Linked DNA regions of Homo sapiens: regions 1, 2, 3, 4 and 6 are each linked to region 5. Evidence: promoter capture Hi-C in 16 types of primary human blood cells and fetal thymus (Javierre and others, 2016). All regions are on one chromosome and are shown on one strand. The core of a region is centred on a gene start or on the middle of the fragment in contact, and the rest is flanking DNA. Distances in the headings are between cores, read along the strand shown. Region 1 holds the start of LINC00547 (long intergenic non-protein coding RNA 547). Region 2 overlaps POSTN (periostin). Region 3 has its middle 14 kb from the start of LINC00547. Region 4 overlaps LOC124903159 (a long non-coding RNA gene). Region 5 holds the start of CSNK1A1L (casein kinase 1 alpha 1 like). Region 6 overlaps LOC124903159 (a long non-coding RNA gene).

Region 1 (4,733 bases), core at 1,073-3,572, 430 kb after region 5:
TGAGCTTGGCTTAGGAATAGGCTCAGATCCGAGTATGTGATGTGAGTATGGGCTGAGATTCAGGAAGGCTTAGATATGGAAGGGGACTGAGAGAAGGACAGAGTTGGGTAAATAAATGAGGTGGCCTCAAGCTGAGATGTGGATTACAGACGAATTCATTGATGCATTTCAAAAGTGGAAAGGCAGGAGAAAATGAAATTCAATTTGCTTCATTTTAAAAATCGTAGCTCTAGAATTATATTATTCAAAAGATGTTAAAAATTCTAAATATTTTACTGTGGTTTTATTCTGTTTTTCTATAAAAAGATGGTATGTTCTCTCAAAAACCAACTATTTAGTAAGCATAGCATTATGACAAATAATTCTGAAAATGACAATCAAGTAATCAAGTTCTGTAAGTTCATGACCTATAAACAAATCAGAATGAGAAGTTTAAATATACTCCTTGTTTTCCCTTGCCCTTAAATGGTAATCTGAGTTTGAGGAATAACTTCTGAATGTATTTATAGCAGGCAGATGGTTCTGTTGCCTACTGTTAGTTTGGAAAGAATAGAAGAAGGTATAGATAGGTGACTGGAGAAGGAAAACACTTTACTAAGCCGACATGAATAGAATGCAGATTTTTTTAAGCCAAATCAGTTTTGAAAATGTATATATAAAATTGTGCAAAAGAATTTCTCTAGTTTTTTCCTGTATTATTTAATGGTTGAAGGCTGTAGACTTTTTTTTTTTTTTTTTTTTTTTTTGAGATGGAGTCTCACTCTGTCTCCCAGGCTGGAGTGCAGTGGCGCGATCTCGGCTCACTGCAAGTTCCGCCTCCCGGGTTCACGCCATTCTCCTGCCTCAGCCTCCCGAGTACCTGGGACTACAGGTGCCCACCACCACGCCTGGCTAATTGTTTTGTATTTTAGTAGAGATGGGGTTTCACCGCGTTAGCCAGGATGGTCTCGATCTCCCGACCGCGTGATCTGACCGCCTCAGCCTCCCAAAGTGCTGGAATTACAGGTGCGAGCCACTGCGCCCGGCCGTAGACTTTTTTTTTCTTTAACAGTAAAAATATACCACTTCAAAACTTGCAGTCACAATTCTAGCTGGATTAGCCAAACCATATAGAATAACGTTTTTTTTTCTTGTTTTTTTTTGTTTTTGTTTTTAAAAACCATGGAATTTATTTTGAAGAAAATATGGTTATCATTAATGTTACTTTTTATTTTCTTCCAATCTCCTATCTGATTCAAGTAATGAATTTTAAATTTCTGTTTAGTAAGTTTATTGCAAATGTGCCAAAATTTGACATCTGCAATTCTTAGCAGACGCTATGTTAAGAAAAACAAAGTATTATTTTAATTGGGTATGATTTCAGGCTCATAAACAAAATAATGAAGTATTTTTTTCCTTTTGCTTCCCAGGAATAGATGTTCACCAAGACCAGTAGTTCTCAAACAGGTGAGCATATTAGAATTGAAGTTCACTTGGGAAACTTCTATAAATTGTAAATCTTTTCCTTTCTCTCTCCAACACTCTTTCCAAGTTTCTTCCAGGTATTTTGCTATATCTCATGTTCAGCACAATTGCCAGCCATTGCAGTATGTTCTGGAGCTACAAGGTCCATGAACTATTACACTTGCCTCAAAGACTTCTAGTTTCTTTCAATTCTGATAAAAAAATAAATGACATGATACAGTGGGATAAGTGCTATTATGGTAAAATGAACTTTATGAAGACAGCCTCTAAAACAAATTTGTGGGTTAAGACAACTTATCAGAAGAAGTGAAATCTAAGTTGAGGGTTGAAAGATGACTGTAAGTTAACTAGTTATAAAAGGGGATTTTATGTTTGAGGGTGTATGTATTTAGGAGTGTGGTTTGAGTTTGAAGATTGTTGCAAAGAACATTTTAAGCAAATGTGTATTCTAAGAATATGCAAAAGTATGAAGGAAAGAGTCAGGATATATTGAATACATTATTGTAGTTTGGAAAAATGGTGCATGATTAATGAAGTGAGAGAAGATATTTAGGAGATTGAGGCTGATTATAAAGAGCTGGAGGAAGGAGTTCACCCTTTATCCCGAAAAGATAAAGTGAACACTTTAAATAAGAGACATCATATTTGTGATTTTGAAAAATTATTGATAGCAAAGAAGCAAGAGGCTGGAGGCAATTAGACACTAATGTAGTGTCTTAGAAAATACCTGAAAGTGAGTAGTTCATAAAGAGCAGAAAACTATTTTCCCACCATGTTGGAGTCTGCAGAGTTCAAGATCAAGGTGCCAACAAATTCAGTTGTCTGGTGAGAGCTGCTCTCTGCTTCCAAGGTGCCTTGTTGCTGTGACCTCGCATGATGGAAGGTGGAAGAGCAAGCTAGCTGAACATTGTATAAAGTCTCTTTCTTTTATAAGATCTTTAATCTCATTCCTGAGGAAGGAACCCTCAAGGCCTAATCAACTCTTACGGTCCCCACTTCTTAATACTTTCACATTAGCAACACCTGAATTTTGGAGAAGGCACATTCAAACCATAGCATGCAGTAATCCAGGTGAGAAATTATGGTAAAAAAAAATCATGAGAGTGTTAATGAAGAAAAGATTATGGAAACAAAATATTGAGTCCATATTTGCCTCATCTGGATGTGTGGAAGATTTTAATAAGATATTTTAGATATATTTTTACTCTACCACCCAGAAAATTTTCCTGAACAGTTTATAACATGAAGTATCTTGCTTCATGTAATACTTATAATTTATATATTTTAATGAATTATTTCAATAAAAATATTCATATGTTTTTCTTTAAGAAAGCACCTCTCATGATTCCTTAGCCCTCTCCAAGTACTTCCCATTTTCTGTTCCCTTCAAAGGCAAATTTCTCAAAATTTACACTGCTGTGATTGTCTTGCTTTTCCTTTATCTGTTAATCCACTCTTGGATTCTGCTCCCAATATTTCCCTTGCCAAGGCCCATAATGACATCTACATTGGAATAATCAGTGGATGTACTTCGGCCATCATTGGCTCACTCTGTTCTGGAAACATTTGCTTCCCTTGAAACTATGACCTTGGTTTTTTACCCATCTCTTTTGCTTCTCTGTCTCAATCTCTTGTCCTAGATGTTCCTCTTCTTACTAATCTCCAGCTACTGAAGTTCTTCAGGGTATCCATATATCTTCTTTCTTCTCTCTAATTTGTCTCCTAATCTAATTAATTTTTTTTTTGAGATGGAGTCCTGCTCTGTCGCCCAGACTGGAGTGCAGTGGCACGATCTCAGTTCACTGCAAGCTCTGCCTCCAGGGTTCAAGTGATTCTCCTTCCTTAGCCTCCCCAGTAGCTGGGACTACAGGTGCCTGCCACCACGCCCAGCTAATTTTTTTGTATTTTTTTTTTTTTTTAGTAGAGATGGGGTTTCACCATGTTAGCCAGGATGGTTTCTATCTCCTGACCTCGTCATCTGCCTGCCTTGGCCTCCAAAAGTGCTGGGATTACAGGCGTGAGCCACCGTGCCCGGCCTAATCTAATTAATTTTATAATTCCAAAAAATATCAGTGTGGCTATACATGAACAGATTATAGCTATTCTAGTTAAATTTTCTTATTTGAATTGTAAATTCTTGTGTTCAAAAACTTATTTGATATATCCATTTGATTGGTTGTAAAGATCTCAAGAGTTTACAGAGGCACTAATCCTATTTACAAGGGCCCTATCCCTATGATCTACTCACCTTCCAAATGTCCCACCACTTAATACTATCACATTGGGGATTGGATTTCAATACATGAATTTTAGAAGGACACGAACATTTGGAGTATAGCAAGAAACAATAGTAATCTACTAAGCAGGTAATAGCTTGTATACACCTCAGTTTGTGACTTAATATAGATGTAGCAGTTCTTCAGAAATTTGTCTTTGGATAAGAAGTTAAATCTTATGTTTTGGGTGACTGTTGCTAAAAATAAATTCCAAGTACTTTCTAAATTAGGAGAGATAATTCCCCTTTGAATTATATATTCCATTAAAACATTTTAGAGCTGAAAAAATAAAAGAAATAGATAACAATGAGCTTTTTAGATCACCCAGGCATAAATAAAGGATACTCAGCTATAAAAATGACTAAACAAGGACTTGATGATTTTTCATAATTGATGTATGCTACTTGTATTTTCATTACTTCATATGCTACTTGTATTTTCAGGAGTGCTGTGTTCTAAGAGAATAAATTTTGGTTTAAAAGATTTGAGAATATGACTGGGTGCAGTAGCTCACGCCTGTAATCTCAGCACTAGGAGGCCTAGGTGGGAGGATAATTTGAGCCCAGGAGTTCAAGACTAGATTGGGCAACATGGTGAAACTCTGTCTCTACAAAAATACTTGGTGACATGTGTCTTTAGTCCCAGCCACTCTGGAGGCTGAGGTGGGAGAATCACTTGAACCCTGGGAGGTTGAATTTGCAGTGAGCTGAGATTGTGCCACAGTACTCCAGCCTGGGTGATAGAGTAAGACTCTGTCCCAGCCAAAAAAAGAAAAAAAAGATAAGAGAGTAAGAAATTAGAATAATTTTATGACTTACATTTCCTTCCCTGGATCAAGGAAAACTGTTTAAAAAAGCAGGGAAGGCAGATACAAGGGGCATTAGGTAAAGAGGTTATTGCTGCATAGGAGGGGAACACATCTACAGTGACAGATGAGGAGGCAGCTACATTTCACCTCTTGAGAGAATATCTGAACTATTATTAACCCACTTG
Region 2 (4,726 bases), core at 204-2,703, 480 kb after region 5:
ATGCCTGACTTCCTGTGAAGTCTTTTAGTTGTAGCTGTACGTGTTATCTGGACAAATACTGAACGTATCATTAGTTGAACTGTAATTTTGATAAGCAATATTTCTATAAATTTTCCTGCAGCAAAATGTATGTTAGGGCTGGGTGCAGCGGCTCATGCCTGTAATCCCAGCACATTGGGAGGCCAAAGTAGGAGGTTCACTGGAGGCTGAAAGTTTGAGACCAGCCTGGGAAATGTAGCAAGACCCTGTCTCAAGAAAAATTAAATTAAAAAATTAACTAGGGTGATGTTGTGCACCTATAGTCCTAGCTACTCAGAAGACCGAGGTGGGAGGGTCCCCTGGAGCCAAGGAGTTTAAGGTTACAGTGAGCTATGATTGTGCCACTGCACTCCAGCCTGGGTGACAGAGTGAAATTCTGTCCCTTAAAAAAAAAAAGTACATTAAAACCCTTTTTTAGAGTCCAGAAATCTCTATGTGCCAATAAAGGTTTATCTTGAAAGCCATTCAAAAGATATTCAGATGCTGACTGGTTATTTTACAGTATAAGATCACCTTGCATATTTGATTCATTATAATGAAATGTTTTGAAATGAAAAACATTTTAGTAGAGACAGCATAGTGCTAACACATTGTATGTGTAGTCAATGCAGAAACTAATCAACACCTTGTAAAACATTTATTATTTCTTATTGCAAACAATCATCATAAAGAAAAATGGTGTGTAGGCAGAGAACAGAATTACCTTGAAAATTGTAAAGTACTCTGCAAAGGAAAAGTTTATTTTAAAAAATTTACTGCTTTCTGGAATTTAAAATAATTGATGCTCTAGAATAGAAAGTTATTCATAATGAAACACATGCAAAATATCTATCTGAGTTTTGAATACATAGCACTTGTTGTGGACTTTGCTCACAGTCTTTTCACCCAAGCTACCCAGTTCCCTGATGCTTCTATGAATATTTACTATTAGAACCACACTCATAAAATTCTGTGAAATATTCATTGAAACAGCATTATTTGACATGTCATTTGACAGACTTTTTATTTTGTTGTGATTCACTTACTGTACGATATACGAAGACTCTGAGCTGTTTGCCTCCGATGGTTTCCAGTATTTGCCCGTTGTAAAGCTCATTAAGGCCAACTTTTACTTTCAATATGTGATTCTGCAGAATTAATTTAAGGAGGCGCTGATCCATGCTGAGAGTATCATCTGTAAATAAATTCATTAAGAAAGAGCATTATTTTATTTAGAAAACATTGAAGTTTCTCCCGGTAAGACAGAATCATATAAACAGATAATCCCTGACATTATTGATATCATGGATTTTGCACTCATATAATACATGAATCAACCAAATGCTAAAAACTAACAATTCAATTCACCAAGTAGAAACTCTGTGACCTATTGTATTAAATGACAATAATACAGTTCCAACCAGTTCAATCAATGAGTTTCACCTCTGTAAGGGCTACATAGTTTTATAGTGGTCACTGGCAAATGCTAAACCTTAATGGTGGCCAAGGCTTTGTCTGATAATTAGATATCTGTTAGTCACATGAAAGAACTACTGATGAATCCTTTGTAAATTAATCTTGATTACTGGAAAGAGAATCAAAGCAAACAACCTCTTAAATATGGGTTATTGTCAAAACACATGGGCAGGATTATTACAAAGAAGAAAGTCAGGATATCTAGGAATTCAATTTTTTTGATTAATAGTTTTTATATCACAATTTAGCATTTGGAAAAACAAAAAATTGTGTTACCTATTTTTAATTAATAAATGTTGCCTAACAATTTAAATATGTCTGTGAAATCATTTTCCTGAGAAAGGTCGAAGGTTGCATGAATCTGAACATGGTCTGTGAATAGCAACTACTAGGTGAAATATTTATATATACTATTTTACATCATGATATGGAAGTGTATAAGTCTCTTCATTTTATTTATTTATAATTTGACACCCTTACTGTCCAAATTTTGAGATGCAAAACACACCTATTTATTTCTAAATATTATTATGTTGGTATCAAATAAAGAAATCAGTTTTATTTTTTTAGAGATCTGTCAATGCATCCTTATTGTGCTGGAAATATTAGATTCACAGAGAAACTAAATATGCTTTTTTTTAAGTTTCGTTTTTTTTTTTTTTTTGAGACGGAGTCTCACTCTGTCGCCCAGGCTAGAGTGCAGTGGTGCCATCTGCTTCCTGGGTTCAGTTCAATTCTCCTGCCTCAGCCTCCCGAGTAGCTGGGATTACAGGAGTGCACCACCACACCTGGCTAATTTTTGTATTTTTAGTAGAGATGGGTTCTCACCATGCTGGCCAGGCTGGTCTCAAACTCCTGATCTCAAGTGATCTGCCTGTCTTGGCCTCCCGAAGTGCTGGGATTACAGGTGTGAGCCACCACGCCTGGCCTGAATAGTCTTAATTACAAATTACAAATTTCACTCTCTGTAGGCTATTATCCATTATAATGAAATGTTTAGAAATGAAGAACATTTTAGTAGAGACCATGTAGTGTTAACACATTGTATGTGTAGCCAATGCAGAAACTAATCAACACCTCCTAAAACATTTATTGTTTCTTATTGCAAACAATCATCATAAAGAAAAAAAGGTGTGTAGGCAGAGAGCAGGAACAACAGTGTCCAGCACATACCAGAAAATGCATTATTCACAGGTGCCAGCAAAGTGTATTCTCCATCTGGCCTCAGAGCAGATGCCAAGCCTAATTGGGCCACAAGATCCGTGAAGGTGGTTTGCTGTTTTCCAGCCAGCTCAATAACTTGTTTGGCTGAAAAATAAACCATCACCATCACAACAATGTCATCATTGCTATTATCTCCATCATGAAACTAGTAAATCAATTCCTGACTCTTTTCTAATATTGTAAGCTATTTACTGCAATGTCAGTGTGATAAGACATCCTCCTCCTCCCTAATAAGAGAGTTCCACTTCCATTTTTTGGTGGGAGTTGATAATCACGATAAATTTCAGAAGGAAAATATTTTTCTGTCTTCCTACTACATGTTTCTTTAATTCTCTATTGTTCATCTCTCATCTTTCTCTCTATACTGTGAGTTCCATAGCTTTTCCATTTATCCAAAGCTGACCATTTGGTTAGATCTTTCCTTCTCTTTCCAAGAAAAACTCTGGCACTGTGAAAACGGTTATAAATATTAGATGTCAGAAACCCTAGAAAGCCAAAGATTCATGCATGGAGTTCCCATCACTACACTGCCTATCTATGGAGTGCTCAAGTAGCTCACTATTTATTGTGTTAGTGCTTTGCATGCCATTCTTTATACTGCACATTCATTTTTCATGGACTTACTCTTTGAGACAGCATAATTAGTAAATTACAGTAAGTAAAAAAACAAAAACAAAAACAAAAAAAGTTGCTTACCAGAATCAGGAATTAGGACCTGATCAATCAAATGGATCACACCATTATTTGTCACAATATCCTTTTTGTTCACCATTTTGATTCCATTTACTGTTATACTGTCACCGTCACATCCTATCTCAATTGTATTTCCTTCCAGCGTCTCAAAGACTGCTCCTCCCATAATAGACTCAGAACACTGGAGAGTATTTAAGATGTGGTACTTCATAAGAGCTGGAGAACACAATAAAAACAGGTAGCTTTCAGATCAAGGGAAATAACATTTGACCCTGAAAAGATGTGTTTCACTGTGGAACTAAGTATTCCTTAAAATGTAGTAAAACCTAAGGATTCACTAACAGCTTTAAAATCCTATTTATGTTCTAAAAGTTTTTTCCTATCAACTATAAAATAGAAACAGCTCAGCTTCGTAGGAATAATAAGAGGAGATCAGCTTCAGGAAATGATTGGTGCAGTATTAGAAAACGTGGTAGGTTAAGTTCCAGCTATCATAAAAAAGTAACTCCTGATGTGAAAGCAAGAATTGTTCCTTTCAGAGGAACTTTGACTGGCACAAGGGCTCACACCTGTAATCCCAACACTTTGGGAGGCCTAGGTGAGAGGATTGTTTGAGGCCGGGAGTTCAAGACCATGATGAGAAACACAGCAAGATCCCTCTCTACCAAAAGAGAAAGAAAAGGAAGGCCTGTGAAATTCCAAAATACCCAAGAGCAGTATCTTGTAATAGCTGCTCATAGCAGAATATTTGTATATAACATGTAATGAGGTCGATAGAGGCTGAGGATAAGACAAATTATTTCCGGAAGGCAACTTCTAGAAAGTAACCAAATAAAGATGATTCATTGAAGGACCTCTGGAGGGATCTATGCCTCAACTACATTATATCTATCCTGCATCCTAAAATTTTCTCATCTTAAATTGGTTAAATGTATTTTGGGATAGGCTGAGTAAGTGAAGTATGCAAGCACAATGTAAAACCTATCTGACAACAGCAAAGAAGCTTGGAAAGCCACCAAATTCTTATGTGTATCAGTAATTAGAGGCCCAAGAGAACCATACAGTTCTCACAACTCAATATCTTTTGGCATAAATACAGAATTAAAAGCATTGCATAACGTGCATACAATATTAAAATTTGATGATCTAATATTTCTTTCCAACACCTGCTAATCCTTCTGAATATCTACTACTTATTTACTTGAAAGCAGTATGAAAGAATGTGATCTTGAGAGTATTCTTATTATTTAAGAATTATACTCTGCCTACTCTTTTAAGGACTTTTGGAAGACATAGTACATCTCAGAATAAAAAT
Region 3 (4,390 bases), core at 520-3,019, 410 kb after region 5:
AATTGTGGCTTTTCTTCCTACAATGTTATTTGCTTTATTAATATCAAATTTACTCCCTGCTGTTTTTTCAGTGACTCTAAGAACAAAATAACAATAAGTGTAATATTTTGAAGATATTTTAGACGCAATTATATCAAGTATGTGTGGGACTAACGGATCACATAAATAATGGCATAGATATAAGCAAGTTCACACATGTGAGATGTGAGACAGTGACAATTTCACCATAAGAGCTGCCTAGGTGATAGTGATTATAGTCATCATTGGTTATGAGATGCTTCCTGATTTCAGGGATGTTAAAATATTGAAGAATATGTACAAGTTAGAATTGATGAAATATGATAATTCTTTTGTGTTGGATTTATAGTTTGACTTTTCTATTGAAACTTTTAAGTTTTAATGATTTTTTTAGAGCTTCATTGAGATATAATTTTCAACTCATAAAGCTCACTTAAATATTTATGATTTAATCATTTTTAGCTCATTTACAGGCTTGTGCAAGCATCATCATAATATAATTTTAGAATATTTTTATTATCCATCAAAAAAACCTCGTATCCATTAGCAATTGCTCTCCCTTTCCCTTTCTCTCCCAGATTTAATGACTATTTTATTTAAATATTTTAATTTGTTTTATTTACATACACACTTGTTTTATTTTGCCTATTTTCATTTTATAATTTGTTGCTTAAATTTAAAAAATAGCTATTTGAGGACCCTACACTCTGATTGACATTTCTTGTCCATTTGAGAGGAGCGAGTCTTCTCATTGTTAATTTTGTTGGCTTTCTTAGCATTAGTTTTCATCACATGTTTTGAGATACGGGTGAGTGCGGGACTATGTTGTCTTAAAGTTTGTTCTTCCCTCTCCCTTTTTCTTTGAGCTCATTCTCATGTCTCTGTTGGTCTTAGAAGTTACGTTTTGATTGCCAGCTTCATGCCCCATCTGAAAGTGATAACAGTATTGTAGACCTAGGCACTGAACCAGTGGGTAGGTTGGCTCAGGTGTATGTTGTGAAGTTACTTCTGCTTCTTCTAGTTTATAGACGTAGATTTACTTATGCCATAGCCTAGAAATAATATGGCCAGTTGGTTTAGCAACTTCTTATGAAGAAGGAAGCTTTACTTCAGTCCCTAGTATTAAACACTGGGCCTGATTCTCACTGCAATTTTAGTACTGTTATCCATAGAAAATGAATTTCTGGCAGCTTCTCCTGCCTTCAGACCTAGAATTGACCTCAGCAGACATGGATGCAGCCCTGCCTACCATCTTAAATGTTTATTCAATTTGTTGTCATGATTATATTTATTGTATTTTAAATCGTATTTATATCTCTTTACTTTTAAAGATGCCATCTATTAATACTATGTATGTCACAGTGTGTGTGTATGTATGTGTGCATATGGGGGTTATTTGTATCTGATGCCTCAAAGCAAGACATTAAAAGACTATTATAACTCTAAATCAGAAAAGTTTCTAAGCTGTCACCTGATCCTGGAGCTACAGGCTTCTCTCTGATTGCCTTGGGAATGTTTTAGATTCCCTGCTATGCTGTTGCTATGTTTAAACAATTTTGTCTTTGATTTTTTTAAAAGTCTAGTTTTTAGTTTCTGGTTTTGGTTTGTCAAAAAATAAAAATCTGATAAAATTTTTTATGTGGGACCTAGCAGGCATAATTTTGTTGCTTTAAAAATGACTATATCAGTAGTATGTAGGATGCCTTAAAGTGGAAGAATGTAAGGTTAGAAAACTTGCAAAGATGTTGTTGTATTAGTCTGAATTACTAAGGATATGGAAAAATTATTAGCAATGAAAGGGCGACACTGAATATCAAGAGAAATGAATGAATTATTAGCTATCCTAGCACTGGAAAAGATGATGACAATTGTCTAATTCCCACTTTCTCTACGATTTAATTCATCTCTCCTAGTTTATGAGTCTAATTATATTAAGAACAACAACAAAAAAAGACCCAGCCCATAGAAGGTGATTAAAATTAGAGAAACTAAGAAATAGACACATAGGATCCAGGATTGAAATCAGGTAATCGGGTTTCAATATCCAATTCATTTCACGATTCAATGAGGCTTTAAAACATTTTTATTTTTTGAATAGAACCTCCATGGAACAATCTAAAATGCATTCTTTATTCTGTCACAGTATCCTGTCACATATGAACGATTCCCATGACCCTTATCAAGTTATTCTTTGTCTTAGATGGTTTCCCATTTTAGGACATTGATGTCAGCTTCATGGGTGTAAGAACACTGAACAGACATGTTAGAACATTTTATACCCGGGATATTGTCATTTCTTGCAGAGGTATAAGTCAACCTTGCCCTGGAGACTAGTTTTAGAATGTTATGTGTTCTGTTTTGTTTTATTTTTAGGAAAGTGAGATCAAGTGGCAAAGCTATTAAGCTTTGCTCATTACTGAACAAAAACTAGAACTCAAGTCTCTTTGCACAAACTTTCTGCAGGGGTTTCCTCCTTTAGTTTTGCTGTTTTCTCATGGGGAATATCTTCTCCTTTCTGACTAAATCTTTCATGTAACTCATCCTGATAATGGTAGCCAAAATTGCTTTTTCTCATTCTTTCCTATTCTTACTTAGGTAGCTAATGAATGTTTTGGAGTTTCATTATGACCTCTCCTATTATTTAGTAGACTTTCATATTTGTCTTGTTTGCACCTAGACTGTCATACACATTAACTTTAGATATCACTGCCTGCATTAAAATGCACTAATTTTAGCATGTAATTTGATGTCTTTTGACAAAGTCCAACCTACTGTTATTTTTTTTCTTTTATGCATCATGTTTTTGGTGTTGTATATGCATCATAATTTTTCTCTTATGTTTCCTTCTAGTAATGGTTCTAACTTTGTTGAAAAGACTTCTTTTTCTATTGAACTAACTTTGCAACTTTGTCAAAAATCGGTTGTCTATATTTGTGTTGTTGGGTGAACATTCATTTATGCTTGATACATCTTGATGATTTGATATCTTTATTATATCATTATGAAATGTTCCCTTTCATCCCTGGTAATATTTTCTATTCTAGTATCTTCTTTGTTTAGTATTTTTTTAAAATAAATTTTATAGTGCATATTTAAGCTTTTGCTTGGTATTAATATAGCTGCTACAGCTCTCTTATTATTAATGTTTACATGTTGGAGCTGATTATATCCCTGTGTTTTCACCTAGGTCTATGTGTGTGTGTGTATGCATGCACACACGTGTGCAGAGTTTAAATTTATATTACAGCAAATACTGAGGCCTTGCTTTTATGACCTGACTGATGTTCCAGACTTTACAATTTGCATCTTTAAATTATCACTGTATATCTCCACATAAGAATGTACCATTTCACATATATGGTAAGAACCTTGTAACAGCAGTCTCCTGTTTCTCCCTCTCTTCCTTTTTGCTGTTGTCGTCATGTATTTTACCTCTTTATAAAAATGACACAATACAATGTTTCTAACTTTTAAGCAGTTAATCATATATTAAAGGATTTAAAAAGCAAGAAGATAAGTCTATTGCATTTATCCATGTATGCACCATTTCCAGCACTTTTAATTTCTTTATATAGATCCAAGTTTCTATTAAGAGTCATTTTGCTCTTGGCTGTATAACTGATTTATGATTTATTGTAGTGTAAATCCGGCAACAAATAATCCCAGCTTTCATCAGTCTGAAAGTGTCTTTATATAGTATTCAGTTTTGAAGGATATTGTTTTTGGCTACACAATTCTAGCTTTGCTTTCTCATTTTCTTTCTACTTACAAAGTTTCTCATGAAGACTCAGTGGTAGTTTTTAAAAAAATATTCAACTTTTAAGTTCAGGGGTACATGTGCAGGAAGTGCAGGTTTGTTACACAGGCAAACGCGTGCCAAGGTTTGCTGCACAGATCATCCCATCACCTAAGTATTAAGTCCGGCATCCATTAATTATTCTTCCTGATGCTCTCTCTCCCCCAACCCTCCCCAGAAGACACCAGTCTGTGTTGCCCCTCTCCATGTATCCATGTGTTTTCATCATTCAGCTCCTATTTATAAGTGAGAACAAGTGGTATTTGGTTTTCTGAGCCTGTGTTAGTTTGCTGAGGATAATGGCTTCCAGCTCCATCCATGTCCCTGCAAAGGACATAATCTCATTCCTTTTTATGGCTGCATAGTATTCCATGGTGTATATGTGCCAGATTCTGTGATAATTCCTATAACCGGTTTTTTTTTTTTAATGGTTTTGACTGATGTAAGGCTTTTTTCATTACCACTGATTTCCAGCAGTTTAATTGTAATGTATCCTGGTGTGAATTATTTTGTCTTTATTCTGCTGTGGTTGATCTTATTTGATCTATAGGTTGATAGTTTAAACATATTTTTAAA
Region 4 (4,537 bases), core at 1,027-3,526, 380 kb after region 5:
TTGTGAATTCTTATATCTTAGGCTGCCTTCATTGAATAGACAGATTTTAAAGGAAAAATTGGCACTCACTCAAACAATAAAATGGTAGTATTAAGGAACCTTTAAGAATTAGGATCCGGGAGGCAATGTTCCATTATTTCATCATTTAAATTTATTTGGGTTTTTGGGAATGTATGAGTGAGTTTACACCCACTTTCATTTCATTTCCGAATTTGAAGATTGAGCTTTACAAAGAGGTAGTGACTTACCTCAACTCACACAATGAACTTCCCCAAAGAGGTGTGGTTGGAATTAGAGCTTGTTCTACCCACGCCAGTGTTCACATAGCAAGTGTGCTCTCTAATAGCTGATATTCATATAGTGTTCGGTAACGGCCAGTTTCCACATACATCTTTTCTTTTAATCACACTCATATTGTGTGACAAGCATATTCTCTTTTTATGGACTAGAGACCGTAGATTACAGGCTACTGCAAAGCAGGGATCTTGTCTACTTTGTGCACCATGCTATTCATATGGCCTGCTGTGTTGTAAGTGCTGGACAAGTAAATGAGGGAGAACTTGTCCCACAGTTCAGAAGGGGTGCTGTGGCCTTCTATCTATAAATTGTTATTAGACCTCTGCTCAAACATTTTCAGTGATGAGAAATTCATTGCCTTCCAAAGCAGCCATGGTACATATCCTTTCTTATTTTAGTTTAGTTTAGTTTAGTTTTGCCTGTTTGTTTTTGCTTCACAGCTCCTCATTGCCTTCTCTTCTACTCAGAGTGGTTCTGTTGATGTCAGTTATGGTTGCCGGGCTCTTAGGGGCAGACGCATAGCCTAGGGTAGGCCTTTCACAGCATCCATCCCCCATCTACAGTCACTGGTCCAAGAAGTGACCACTTTGGGAACCAGTCATGGTTCTCCATCACACCTGTCAAGTGGAAGATGAAGGAGAAAGGGCCACTTTCTTCTTTTCTGATTGCAAACTCTGGTAAACCCAGTGCTTCCAGAGGCCCTCTTTGCTCTTGTGTATCAAGAGACTGCCTGAGAAAGAAACCAAACACAAGACAAAAACCAAACAGAAATGGACAGCATGATGGCAGCTATTGAAACCTCTAAATCCTCTGTTCCTAGAGCTAGCTCCACCTTTGGGTTTCTCAATTGTGTGGTTAATACCTTTCTCTTTTTTTCTCTTTTTGTTTTACTACTTATAAGCAAAAGAGGTCTAACATGACTACCCATTCCATGATGACACAGTTTGGACTTTTGAAACATTCTTATGTGGATCCCAGATCCCCTTTATAGAGACAAGAAGAACAGGTGTAACTCTTTCATGTAACAGTGTTTCTGACACTTGGAGAAAACTACCCTCTCTTTTCCTCAGCTTTTGCTTAAGTCTTCTGTCCAGGTTCTGCACCCTATTTTGTCAACTTCCCTTCATGTGATGTAGTGTCCCACACCATCTTAGTTGCTAACATTTCATTACATCTCCATTTGCCCACAGCTATCTTAATATGAGGGAAGATTAACACAATGTTCAGCAACATAACATAGGATAATAATTTTCTTTCTTTCATACATTGTAATTTTTCACTGCTCCTGAAGGTCTCATTGGCCTTTTTAAATATTATAATACATAATTGACTTGAAATACAAGTGTTATGAATTGAAACTCTCAAGCTTGACACATTTTTTGATAATAAAGTATGTCTCCCATAACTTTTAATAATTTTGTTCTTTTTAACTGATTTTACCTTTATTTCAAATTAACTTCCATTTATAGGTAGAAATGTTCCATATTTTATACTCATTGGTTTTTATGTTGGGTCTATCAGAAAATGAATTTGCTATTTCCTTTCATTTTATATTTTCAGAAAGCTATGTTTAAAGCTTGTGTTTTTAAAATTTTTATTTATTTATTTACTTGTGATAGCATCAAGGAAGTTAAACATTTCTATGGCAGAATGCTATTTGGAAGTCCAGGATAGTTACTTAATAGTTTTCTTACATGAATGTAGTGTCTATTTATTTGTGGATCTTTTACTTTCCTAAATCTTTATTCATCTTGAAGCTCTGGTGACTATTAGTATAAAGAATGTGATTTTCATTCAGTTCCTGTCTGAGACACTAGAAAAAAAATGGTTTCTTTGCTTCATTTGCCAAATATTCTGCACAGTGCTTATTTTGTATTTTTTCCCATATTAAGTGTAATACAAGACTCATTGGCACATTATAAATAAGAAATTAATGCTGAAAAGGAAGCCACTTCCAAAAGCAGCATTTCCCCAGGAAATAAAGAAGAGGTGAGATCAGTACCCCCAGAGAGTCTACAACTGTCTTCTGTCTGTTCCCCTTCTTCTTTTACAGGATAAAATGAAAATTGAGAAAGAATTCAGATAATTGAGACTAAAACGTGCTGCCTTAGTTATTTCAATTTCTCATACAAAATGTATGCTTGGCTTGAGGTATATTATTATCTTCCATGTTTTAGTTATAGTCTTACTGAATTGTACAAGAAGGAAAAAGGTTAAAAAATTAAAGTGGATTGCATGTATATGTGTGTGCCTAAAGGCATATTGATAACATAGAAACATAAATATGTTATAGAAAAATTATACCATGAGGATCAATTAATGTATCAAAGGGAAGGTAATGTTATGATGATTGATCAGATTCATTTCACTGTGACCCAGATTAAAGCTTTTTACTATTAACCCGTGGCTTCTGCATTTACTGGGGTGGATTTTTCCTTTTTGTATAGCTGGATAGGAACATTTTCATGTCTTTTCACTTTAAATTTGCTCAAACAAAGCACTAAACCAAAAATGATACAGATTTAAATGAAGATTCTGTAGGAGAAAGAGAGAGGGTGAAACCATGTACCACAAAACCTTGTCCTCATTAAATATTTTTATTTTCTGCAAGTTCTCACTGCCATCATAACAAAACTGCTGGTTTTCGTTATCCTCCCTTTGGTCACTCTGTATCCCTTCTTACTGGATCCTTTATTTTGTCATTCTTATTTTTCCTCAGAACCTCAAATCCTCCATCTTTTCATATACAGGGCAATTTCTTCACAGCCTTTTGTTAGTCAGGAAGTCCTTTTCATCATAATTGGTTTATTTTAGCTTCGAAATCTTTCCTCTAAATATGCACAAGGCTTTCTCTGAAAGGGACTTTGTTTTATTTTTCCATCTTGTTACAATTTCCTCCATCACAGTACATAATTCTGTAGTTGAGGATAGTTGTGAATAACAATTCAGAAAGCAGGAATTGAAGCCTATTTCTCCAAACTCATTGATATTATTATCCTGTAACTAAACTCTAAGAATTTTAAGAAATGTATCTCTATGGGGTCACCTATAGCAGTAAAACATCAATCATCAATAACTTTTATGTAGGCTTTGCTTAATACATTGTAAACTTTGATCTCATATTATTTTCTAGGTATAAGGGTTAAAAATAAGTGCCAGTCTAGATTTTGCTGAAAATAACTTCTGTTTTAATATCCTGTGATTTTCACCACAATCATTCCCTTCATTGCCAAACAATGAATTGGCAAGGATTCTTGTTCAATTGAGGTTTAATGGAAACTGGTTGCCTTAAGAAGAAATTGACTTATGTGCATGATGTGTTCATTTGCAGGCAGCTTCAAAGATCACCAACTGTAAGAAACAGGAAGAGACTTTGAAGTAGATAACTTCTTGTGTTTTTTTCACATATTCCCTGGTGGAATTTTAGTTTTGTATCATGCTTTTCCAAGTTTTTCTCCAGATGTTGTATAGTTTTTTGTTTTTGTTTTTTTTTTTTTTTTTCCCGGAAAAGTTTAGACATCTTGTACACAGACATCAAGATCTAAAAACGGAGGCGCCAGCTCTATTTTACAAAAATATCTGATAGTATCTTATTGAAGAATGTTGGAATCATTCAAGCGACTGCTTCTATCCAGTTTCCACGCTGTCTGAAGATCCTCCTTGAAATCCCATGTAACCTTTAGTATAATGCCCACGTTAAGAAAAGTGGGTCAGTGATTAAAGACATATTGAATCATGTTTCTGGCTTTTTGTGTTTATAAATTATGTATATAATTATAAATATAGTATTTATATAAAAATATAAATGTATACATGTTTATATTTATTATAAATTATTATAAATAATCAGTAAAACATCAGTGGACCAAACATTCTCTGTACAATTAATTACGCAGATAATAGAGTACCTAAGAATCTCTTAAAAAATGAGTGTAACATATGTTTGTTTAGTACACAGTCTGTAGAAGAGAGTTGTTGGTAATGTACTGTGGACTGGGGTCATATTGCCGGTTCCCATGCATTTTCCTTGGAAGATAAAGACAGCGATCAGGTTTCAAGTCATTCAAGACAGAGACACAAGCAAAGGCACAGATATTTGAAGGTAAATAAATAGGCAAATTTGACTAAGGAGGATGCTATGCTAGTATTTGTTATAGTATTAGTGTTAATATAAGGTTAATGCATGTTAGTTAGAAAGAAATAATGCAAAATTAATCTTCTTCCTCTCCCATTTGAACTA
Region 5 (4,616 bases), core at 865-3,364:
TAAATTTCTGTGACAAATATGGTTGTTGTTGTTTTTAAAATACCGAGAACATGATATAGTTAATGTGGAATTCTAAAGATAATCTGGTAGTTACTAAGATTTTCTTATGTCTTCACAGGTAAGCAGGCGGAATCTTTCCTATTCTCAAAACTGGAATTTTTGGTTACTACTAGATCAGCTGGCTTACAGACAAGAAGCCAACCATTTTAAGAATGCTCTTTATGTGAACAATTTGCAAACCCCAGGGATGGAGAAACCCTAAAAATGCTCAATCATAAGCATTTACAACCTTTGCAGCTGTGGCTGAATACTGTCCTTCTGAAATGATATCTCAAAGCAGTCTAGTTCAAAATAAAAGGTTTTAACAAAAAATTGGCATATGGACAATGTCTCCACCAATTCGTGTGTGTCAACCATTTAGTTAACTTTTCTACTTGAATAAATGCAATAGAAAACCAGACACCACGTTTCACTACCTCAGTTAATATTCACAATTACAGAGGCTACACTTTGGGATACAGCATCACCAACGCTCCCCAGAGTCAGTTTATATTGAAATAAAGTTTTTTACACCAACTAAATGGTTGTTCACAGCCACTAGCTGGTGTACATATGAACTACAATTTCTAGATGTGGGGAGAAACAAATGCTGCTCGAATCATCTGCTCTGCTTCTTCTGTTCCTCATTCACGCTTAGTTATCTTTCACATTATTCTTGTTTTTTTCAGTTTGCTTGCCTGTCTGGGTTTGGGCCTGCTGACCCTGCCCACTGGAAGAGGCTGCCTGCTGTGCTGCTTTCTGCTTTAACATCGTCCAATCAAATGTGTAGTCATATTGGTGGTTCAGGGTCCTGAAAAGAATGCGGAATAGCTGCCTCAGATACATGTAATCTGGGACTTCCTCAAAGCGCAGCCCACGACAGTAGTTCAAGTACATGGCGAATTCTGCAGGAAACCCCTTACATAAAACTTCAACAGGGGTGGACATCTTCTTCTCACTAATCTTTTCATATTTTTGTTTTTTTGTCATAGCCCTTAGTCCTTGCCACGGCAGGCTGGTTCTATTAAAATACATGAAAACGTAGCCTAAGGATTCCATGTCATCTCGGCGGCTCTGCTCAATACCAAGATGTGCATTGATGCTGGCATATCGGACAGTGCCAATGAGGTGTTTATCTTCTCTGTACGGTATGTGTTGCCTGGTCCTGTTGTCTCTGTACTTTTTGGCCAAACCAAAATCAATAAGGAACAACTTATTACAGTGACGCCCAGTACCCATCAGGAAGTTATCTGGTTTAATGTCTCGGTGTAGAAAATTCTTTGTATGCACGTATTCAATTCTGCTGATCATCTGGTCGGCTAACATAAGTACAGTTTTCATGGTGAACCTTCTTGAACAGAAATTAAAGAGGTCTTCGAGGCTGGGTCCCAGAAGGTCCATGACTAGCACATTGTTGTCTTTTTCCTGACCATACCAGTGCATGTGGGGGATGCCAACCCCACCTTGAAGAATCGTGTAGAGTTTGCTCTCATACAGCAACTGGGGGTGCTTGACCTTCTGAGATTCCAGCTTCACTGCTACGTCCTCGCCGTTGGTGGTGGTGATGCCCAGATAAACGTCTCCAAAGGAGCCAGACCCGATCTTCCGCACCAGTTTGTATTTCCCTCCCACAACGAGTTCGGCTTTGGAGCCGCTGTTGTTTGTCATCCTGAGAGGCAAAGATGGAGGCTGGGCTCAGCCCTGACCCCTCTAGGGGAGGATGGAGGCCTCCGGGGCCCACCGGCCCGCAAGGCTGAGGATGAGGGCTGCTGGAAATGGCCACCGAGGCGTTTCCCGGTGTTACAGGGCGTGGAGTCAGCCTGATCCCTGCAGCACACCAGGATTTCCGCCAGGCCACAGTTTGCGAGGGTTTCTCAAGGTTCCAGGCTGGGCCACCACCTCTTTCTCGGTGGCGGTCGCTGCCTCGCTGTCGTGGCGATGTCGTGGGCTGAGAAAGGGGGCACAGCGAGTTGGGGCAGCAGTACTGCTGCCACCGCTACCAACGGCTGTGGGCCAGAGGGCCCGGTCACGCCGCCGGCGCCGCCATTTTGTTCCTCCACCTCAGCCAACCACAAATCGAGAATTTTTGGAGAAGCTGTTATTGTCTGAGACCTCTGTTAGGTGTTCCACTCATCTCACTCCATTTAAGACAAACTTGCTAGTCTTGTAAGGTAGCTATTATTTTCCCTGATTTGTTGGGTAAGAAAGGCTGAGTCTCAGGTAAGCGGCCTAAGGTTGCAAGAGATTGTGGGCGAGCTGGAATTCAAAACTGCCTAGGCTTAACTCGAAGCTCACCTTCTTTCAACTTAATCGTGCAGAAATGGGAGGCTTTTATAACAAAGATTTTCTTGTTTTCGGGCCCAGTCATTGTCCCATCTACTTCCTTAGCCATCATGTCTCCCTGGGTTAATGCGAGTCGGGGTGCCACCTCTTGAGGTTTTTCTGTGTGATCTCAGTGGTTGCTTCTTTAATGAGTTTAGTCAACAAGAGTTACTTACTGCTAGTTAAATTGAAATGTCTTTTTTTTTTTTTTTAAAGCGATCCTTTTGAAATTTTTTCATAGAGTGCTTTGAATTTAAATAGGATTCCACAGAGACGTTCTGGCAAAACTGACTAAATGAAGGATTCAAGTAAAATTTAACCAAAATATGGAGAAGAAACAGAAGCCGGCAGTTCTGAGCATTTTCTCAGAAGAACTGGGGCCAGCACTAGCAGAAAAAGCGGTACCATTTCAATATTTTTATGAAAGTTCACATCACAAATAACAAAACCCGTGCGATTATTTTGTTTTATGAGGAGATGGGATAGGAACTGAGTATAATCCTAACGGGGCAGTAGCAACGAATTTGGGGGCCAATGGCAGAAAGGCAGGAGAGAGAGGTGCAGCTTTGAAAGCAGGTATTCTCACTTTACTGTCTCACATAAGTTAGTGCTGTTAACTTTTCTGACCTGCATCAATCTATGGCGAGAGAAGGAGCTGGTTTGAGACATAGACGGGCATAGAACATTATAAAGTGCTTTAAAACATTTTTAAAGTCCACTTCAGACAAATATGTGAGGTGGGTAGCGCAGTATATTACTTGGCTTTGCAGCAGGAACAACTCGCAAATCTCAGTGGCTTACAATGACAAAGTTTATTTATCATTCAGGTTTTATGTAAGCTGTAGATCAGCTGCATCTCTGCTTCCTGTGTCCTCTTTGTTCTAGAATGCAGGCTGAAAGAGCAGCCTCCTTAGGAGCATGCTGTTCTCATAATAAAAGGAGTGGCAAATGTTACATTCCACTGGGCAAAACACATCACATGGCCAGGTCCAAAGACAGTGGGGTGAAAATACATACTCCTACCTCAGGTGGATAGTAATACAGTATACTGCTGGCATATTTTATTATTATGATTGTACTTCTCATTTTATACAAGTGGAAATCAAGGCATAGAGAGGTTAGATGAATTGCCCAAGACCACACTACAGACAAGTGTCAGAGGCCAATTTGAAACTGAATTCTGACCCAAGGTAGTTACTTTTTATACCGTACCAACTAGAATGGCATTTCTTTCATTTACTCATCCAACTTTGTTGAAATTTGCCTGGAGAACAATTTCCTTTCTAATAACCAAGAATAAAATTTATGTTGTTAACCCACTGCCCATTATGCTTCCTTCCCGTTCAGTCTTCCAGTCAATGGCTTCAACACGAACCTTGAAATTCAAATAATCTCTATGTGAGAGAAGTCACTATTCAAAAAAGTTACAGATAACCCATACATGGACAAAAGCTTGAATCAAAAAATCCCCTTTCAATTCTGGAACTAGAATAGTTTAATTATAGTTTATTTATTGTTTACTAAGTCCCATACTTTTTTGTACCAGTTAAATAAAGGCACTGTCTATAAAGAAGGTCAAGTGTAACTTATAATGGTGGTTGGGTGAACCTTCACTTACAGGGAAGTTGTGAGCATCTCCAGAATGGGGAGGATCAGTAACTGAAGTGATGATATGACCCTGAATAGCTTCCAATCCAGTCTCCCATGAATTCTCTTACCACAAGCCGGTGGGACTGCGGATTTTTCCCCGAACACATACTCCCTGCATTTTTTCATCTTTGGGTCTTGGCTTATGGTGTTGTTTCCTCAGCCTGAAATGCTTCCAGCCTGCTTTATCTTTCCCATCGCCCAGGTCTAATCCTAATAATCTCAGGGCTCTTCCTTAAATGCTGTTTGCTCCATGAAACCTTTTCCAATCTCCTCAACCAAATATAAATACTCTTTTTAAACCCAAACAACACTTTGCTTAAACTCTTGCATCCCCTCCTACCCTTTTGTCCAAAATTTTTCCATAAAAGATGTGCAACAAATAGTTTTTAAAATGGAAGTAAATTGAACTACTGTATTTCATAAAGTTTTGTGGACAGTGTGTGGGGTTGATGCATTCTTTATTTATTCATTCATTCAACAAATAGTTATTGAATGCCTCCTATTTGCAGGCATGAGTGACTCACCAAAGGTGGCATAGGTAGGTAATGATGGATTCAGAATGGAAATCCAGGATAGCCTGCCTCCAAAGCCAGTACTTTTAACCC
Region 6 (4,345 bases), core at 209-2,708, 310 kb after region 5:
AGATCCCTTTATTTAATGTATTAATAAAGGAGACTGTATTTTATTGTATCACAAATGTAATTGTTAAAAATATTGATAGCTTTATCATAAATGCTTCTCATTTTAATCTTATGTATTTTATTTTTTAATTTGAAAACATTATTCTGGGAAGGGGACTAAGTTTCAAGGGGTCTATGATGCAAAGCATTTTATTATTATTATTATTATTATTATTGAGACGGAGTTTTGCTCTTGTTGCCCAGGCTGGAGTGCAATAGCACAATCTTAGCTCACTGCAACCTCTGCCTTACTGCAACCTCTGCCTCCCAGGTTCAAGTGATTCTCCTGCCTCAGCCTCCCGAGTAGCTGGAATTATAGGTGCTTGCCACCAAGCCCGGTTAATTTTTTGTATTTTTAGTAGAGATGGGGTTTCACTATGTTGGCCAGGATGGTCTCGAACTCCTGACCTCAAGTGATCCACCCGCCTCAGCCTCCCAAAGTGCTGGGATTACAGGCATGAGTCACCATGCCTGGCCTAAAGCATTTTAAAGAATGACTGCTACAATGGAAAACCAGTTTCACAGAATCCTTCCCTTTGAAGCTTCGTGTCCAGACATTCCATCATCGAATCTACTTTCTTTTTTTTTCTTTTTTTTAGTGAGTGGATGAGACTGGGTAACTGTAGTGAAGGCTGCGATGTGCCAGTTAGGTTCCCTCCTTCCCCTGAATAGGACAACTGCTCTCAGCTGATTCTGGCGGAGAGTTTCCTTGGCTGAAAAGAGCCACCTGGATGAGGTCATGCCCCCTTCTGGGACAAACTGCATTCAATGACTGTTGTGAAGGGGTCCAAAGGCCTGGCTCCTCCCTTCCCAAATGGGGGATGATTCTGAAGGGTCATGTATCTCCAGAGCTCCCTCTAGAATGGGCCTAGTGAGACCTTTGCTGTAATTGCAACTTCCTTTTCTGTGGAGTGTTTCTTCACTTCCCATGGTAGTTGATCCTGAAAGTACTTCCAAGTAGAGTGCCACGTAAAACACAATTAAATTAGAATTTCAAACAAATAATTTTTAGTAGAAGCATGTCCCAAATATGACATGGGACATAAAATATACTAAAAAAATTTATTGTTTATCTGAAATTCAAATTTAACCAGGCATCCTGAATTTTTGTTTGCTAAATGTGGCAAACCTCCCCTAGCACACAAATATCTGTCTCAGAGTTTACTTCCCAGGTAACCCAACCTACAACAGCAGGTCCTTATGATAGTTAATGACAGCCAGGACTACAGCTAGGGTGGGCTGAATCATACATAACCCTTTCTGAGTCCTCTACACACTGCCTTCTGTGATGTCAGGTAGGAAAACAACAAAGGACAATGGGGTGATAATGAGTAGACAAATATTCACTAGTTTGAGGATACCTGAGATTGGGGAAATCTGTCATGTTAGGTATGAAAGTGACACTATCACTCATTTCAAAAACATCCTTGGAGCTGCATGAGGCATATGTGAAGAGTGTTAAACATAAGAGTGTACAGAGCATTTAATATAACTTGCCCAAACTTCATAGCTTTAGAGCAGGGCAGAATGTTGTAATTGCTTTTACTGTCACTATCTACACTAGTTATACCAAGAAACAGTAGAGCTTGGTGATCATTTAATTTTTAGCATGCAACAATAAAAGCATTATTATGTTTTAAAATTGTTTTAGAGATGAGGTCTTGCTATGTTTCCCAGGCTAGACTCAAACTCTTGAGCTCAAGTAATCCTCCCACTTCAGCTTCCTGAGTTGACTACAGGCTCACAGCACTATACCCAGCCCAGAAGCATTATTTTATCTGTATGAAATAGAACACAAAAAGTTTAGGGATTCTAGTTCTACTTTTGCTTACCTTTTAAGTGCTCTGGCACTTTGAGAAACATAAAATATGGCAGCATGCTACTGGAGGTTCCACCAATGATTAAAGACCTTGCTAAGAGGTCATAGACTGAATATATATTAAGGAACATCTCACCTTTCCAGGAAGGCTTTTTGCTGGTGGTTTCTGTTACTCTGAAGAATGGGGATGGGACAAGGGTAGGAAAGGGATATTGAAGTATGATGGGAGTAATAATACTTTCTGATTTCCAACATGTAAAAACTGAATTACTCTTTTAATATTTTACAAGAAGAGCCAGGACATATATTCAATAAAATAAATGTACTCCATTTTTTCTTCCTGAAGCTAGATTTAAAAAAAACTGTGGAATCAAATGTCTCTGGTATGCTGTCTTTTACACATCTTCATGTCACAGAGTTCAATAAATTGCCCATAATGACAGCCTTTATGATTTTAATGTCTGTGTAAACATTCCTTTGGAAGCTTTCTCAAGAGTATCTTTCAACATATGTTAATGTTTGCCAACAGAAAAAAAGAACAAATTATTTAAAATAACATATTTGGATCTTAATTCCCCTTGTTATCTTTGACAATGACACTTGTAAAAAAAAGAAATCCCAGTGTAACAAATGACTTGAGTTGTGTATGAGTTAAGGGCCCAGTTATGAGCTTCATTCTAAACCTAAATAATAATAAATAATGTTTTATTTAATTACGTCGTTGGTAATACTTATTTCTAGAAGTAGTTTTCTATGAGTTTCTGTATTCAACTTGGCATGTGGAAATAAATCTGAGATTATTATTTTCTCAATTTTTATTAGGTGGTTTTTCAAACTAAATGAGGCAAGAATCACATTTATAACCCTTGAATACTGTTTAGCTTCCTTCTGGACCAAGTAAGCCCATTTATTTAACTACATAAATGGGAAACAGCTTCAAGTATTAACTTTTTGCTTGTTAAGTGTTAGGACTTGACTGCAGAGAATTGTTCCATCCAGAACTTTAGAGAACAGTGTAATCTATCACAGTTAGACAGATGTGTGTGTGTGTGTATATATGTGTGTGTGTGTGTATGTACATACACACACACTTTTATTAAAGAAAAACAAAAATCACTTGGTGAATATTTTCAAATCCCTAGAAGTGAGAGAATTCTATGGGAATTATCTGCTCTGAAAACTCAATATGTTTAAGCTACACAGAATTGCTAAATACTTGTCCATCAAGATTAGTTTTCAGACAGGGTAATGGTCTTAGCCAATACTATGCACTATGTTTCACAAACTAATACATACAACGAACCATGCCAATTACAACTTCCGGCTAAGTGAATCAGTGCATCCTGTCTTCAAAGTAAACACTTTATGTATCTATTTTCAACATGTGTGGAGATTCATAACACATATATCCCTTCCTGTAAACCCTATGATTAGTAATAAAAACCGTTTTTTCCTGTAATATAACAATATAGGAGTTAATATAAACTCTTTAGCACAAAAACAGACGAATCTACACATTGTATTTTTCAAGGCACATAGAAAGCACTCGCCAGTCAACGTGGATGAGATTAGTTTATTTCATTAAAACAAAAGAGAATACTTTATTCTCCCAAATCAATGACCAAGATGTATTTATTTGAGGTATGTGGCACAAATCCTTTTTTTCATTTTTTTTTTTTTGGTGCATACCAATAAGATATCTGAGAAGGCATTTTATTTTGATGGAAGTAACAATTTAAACTAGAAACAGGGGAAATAGCTGAAGATTGAATTGAACTTAAAAAACAGTAAGGAAATATTGTAAATGATTCATTTTCACCTTGACAAGGAGGAGGAACGTCTGTGGAAGATGTGGTAGAGTGCTTTCATCCTAGATGCCTGCATTCTGGAGAGTGACTTCCAGGCAACGCTACTTGTTTGGTGTGCAGGGTATGAATGAACAGCAGAGTGCCTCCTGCATTTGGTGCCAGAAGAAACTCTTAAATGCTTCAAGGTCCTGAGTGAAAAAAAAACGTCTTATACAGAGAAACTAGTTAATGTTAAGAACTGTCCTTTATACAGAGATTCTGATCTTTTTAGTGTTTGGTACGATATATGATTCCTTTTATGAAATGAAGGTTACAGTACATGGGAGGGTGCTTGTGTGTATTTTCTTCTTTTCCTCCTCCCTTTTCTCATCCTTCTCCTTCTCCTTTTTCTTCTCTATCTCCTTCTCCTTTTTTCTTTCTGCTTCTTTCCTGTTTTTGTTTGTTTTTATATGTCCTAAGATGACAAAATAGAAATTTATACTTCATGTAAGTTAGTTAACTGTTTTTCTTTTAATATTTTACTGGTTCATAATAGTTAAAAGCATGGGCACCTCTTGAGCTACTTCGAGGGCATGGGTTTCTAATAAATCTTAGTAGGAATTATGGTTCTACGTCTAATTGGACGTATGGGCTTGAGCCTGTTACTTAACTGACAATTAGTTTAAAAAATAAAATAAATA

Evidence for each region. Contacts are between HindIII fragments. The CHiCAGO score rates a contact against its expected background, and 5 or more counts as called.
Region 1: a fragment that was not itself captured here is called in contact with the fragment with the promoter of CSNK1A1L in region 5 in 1 of 17 cell types (endothelial precursors); the score reaches 5.5 in endothelial precursors.
Region 2: a fragment that was not itself captured here is called in contact with the fragment with the promoter of CSNK1A1L in region 5 in 1 of 17 cell types (endothelial precursors); the score reaches 8.4 in endothelial precursors.
Region 3: a fragment that was not itself captured here is called in contact with the fragment with the promoter of CSNK1A1L in region 5 in 1 of 17 cell types (endothelial precursors); the score reaches 5.1 in endothelial precursors.
Region 4: a fragment that was not itself captured here is called in contact with the fragment with the promoter of CSNK1A1L in region 5 in 1 of 17 cell types (endothelial precursors); the score reaches 6.5 in endothelial precursors.
Region 6: a contact is called between a fragment that was not itself captured here and the fragment with the promoter of CSNK1A1L in region 5, in 1 of 17 cell types (endothelial precursors). The highest score is 5.0, in endothelial precursors.

The regions. Positions count from the first base shown.
Region 1 is chr13:37,534,406-37,539,138 of GRCh38, forward strand. It overlaps LINC00547 (long intergenic non-protein coding RNA 547), which reads left to right and starts at 535. Exons shown (of 5, transcript NR_040244.1): 1 at 535-559; 2 at 1,410-1,446. The HindIII fragment of the contact is 4,935 bases long and covers 1-4,733 here.
Region 2 is chr13:37,581,302-37,586,027 of GRCh38, forward strand. It overlaps POSTN (periostin), which reads right to left. Exons shown (of 23, transcript NM_006475.3): 8 at 3,415-3,627; 9 at 2,668-2,802; 10 at 1,065-1,213. Among named protein-coding and RNA genes, the nearest start is that of POSTN, 15 kb to the right of the region's middle. The HindIII fragment of the contact is 5,917 bases long and covers 1-4,412 here.
Region 3 is chr13:37,518,644-37,523,033 of GRCh38, forward strand. No RefSeq gene overlaps it. Among named protein-coding and RNA genes, the nearest start is that of LINC00547, 14 kb to the right of the region's middle. The HindIII fragment of the contact is 1,302 bases long and covers 1,119-2,420 here.
Region 4 is chr13:37,486,799-37,491,335 of GRCh38, forward strand. LOC124903159 (a long non-coding RNA gene) reads left to right here. Exons shown (of 4, transcript XR_007063761.1): 4 at 3,629-4,035. Among named protein-coding and RNA genes, the nearest start is that of LINC01048, 4.3 kb to the left of the region's middle. The HindIII fragment of the contact is 810 bases long and covers 1,872-2,681 here.
Region 5 is chr13:37,103,550-37,108,165 of GRCh38, forward strand. It overlaps CSNK1A1L (casein kinase 1 alpha 1 like), which reads right to left and starts at 2,115. Exons shown (of 1, transcript NM_145203.6): 1 at 1-2,115. The coding sequence starts at 1,707. The coding sequence ends at 694. The HindIII fragment of the contact is 4,821 bases long and covers 1-3,811 here.
Region 6 is chr13:37,414,092-37,418,436 of GRCh38, forward strand. All of the region lies in intron 2 of LOC124903159 (a long non-coding RNA gene), which reads left to right. Among named protein-coding and RNA genes, the nearest start is that of LINC01048, 69 kb to the right of the region's middle. The HindIII fragment of the contact is 1,761 bases long and covers 579-2,339 here.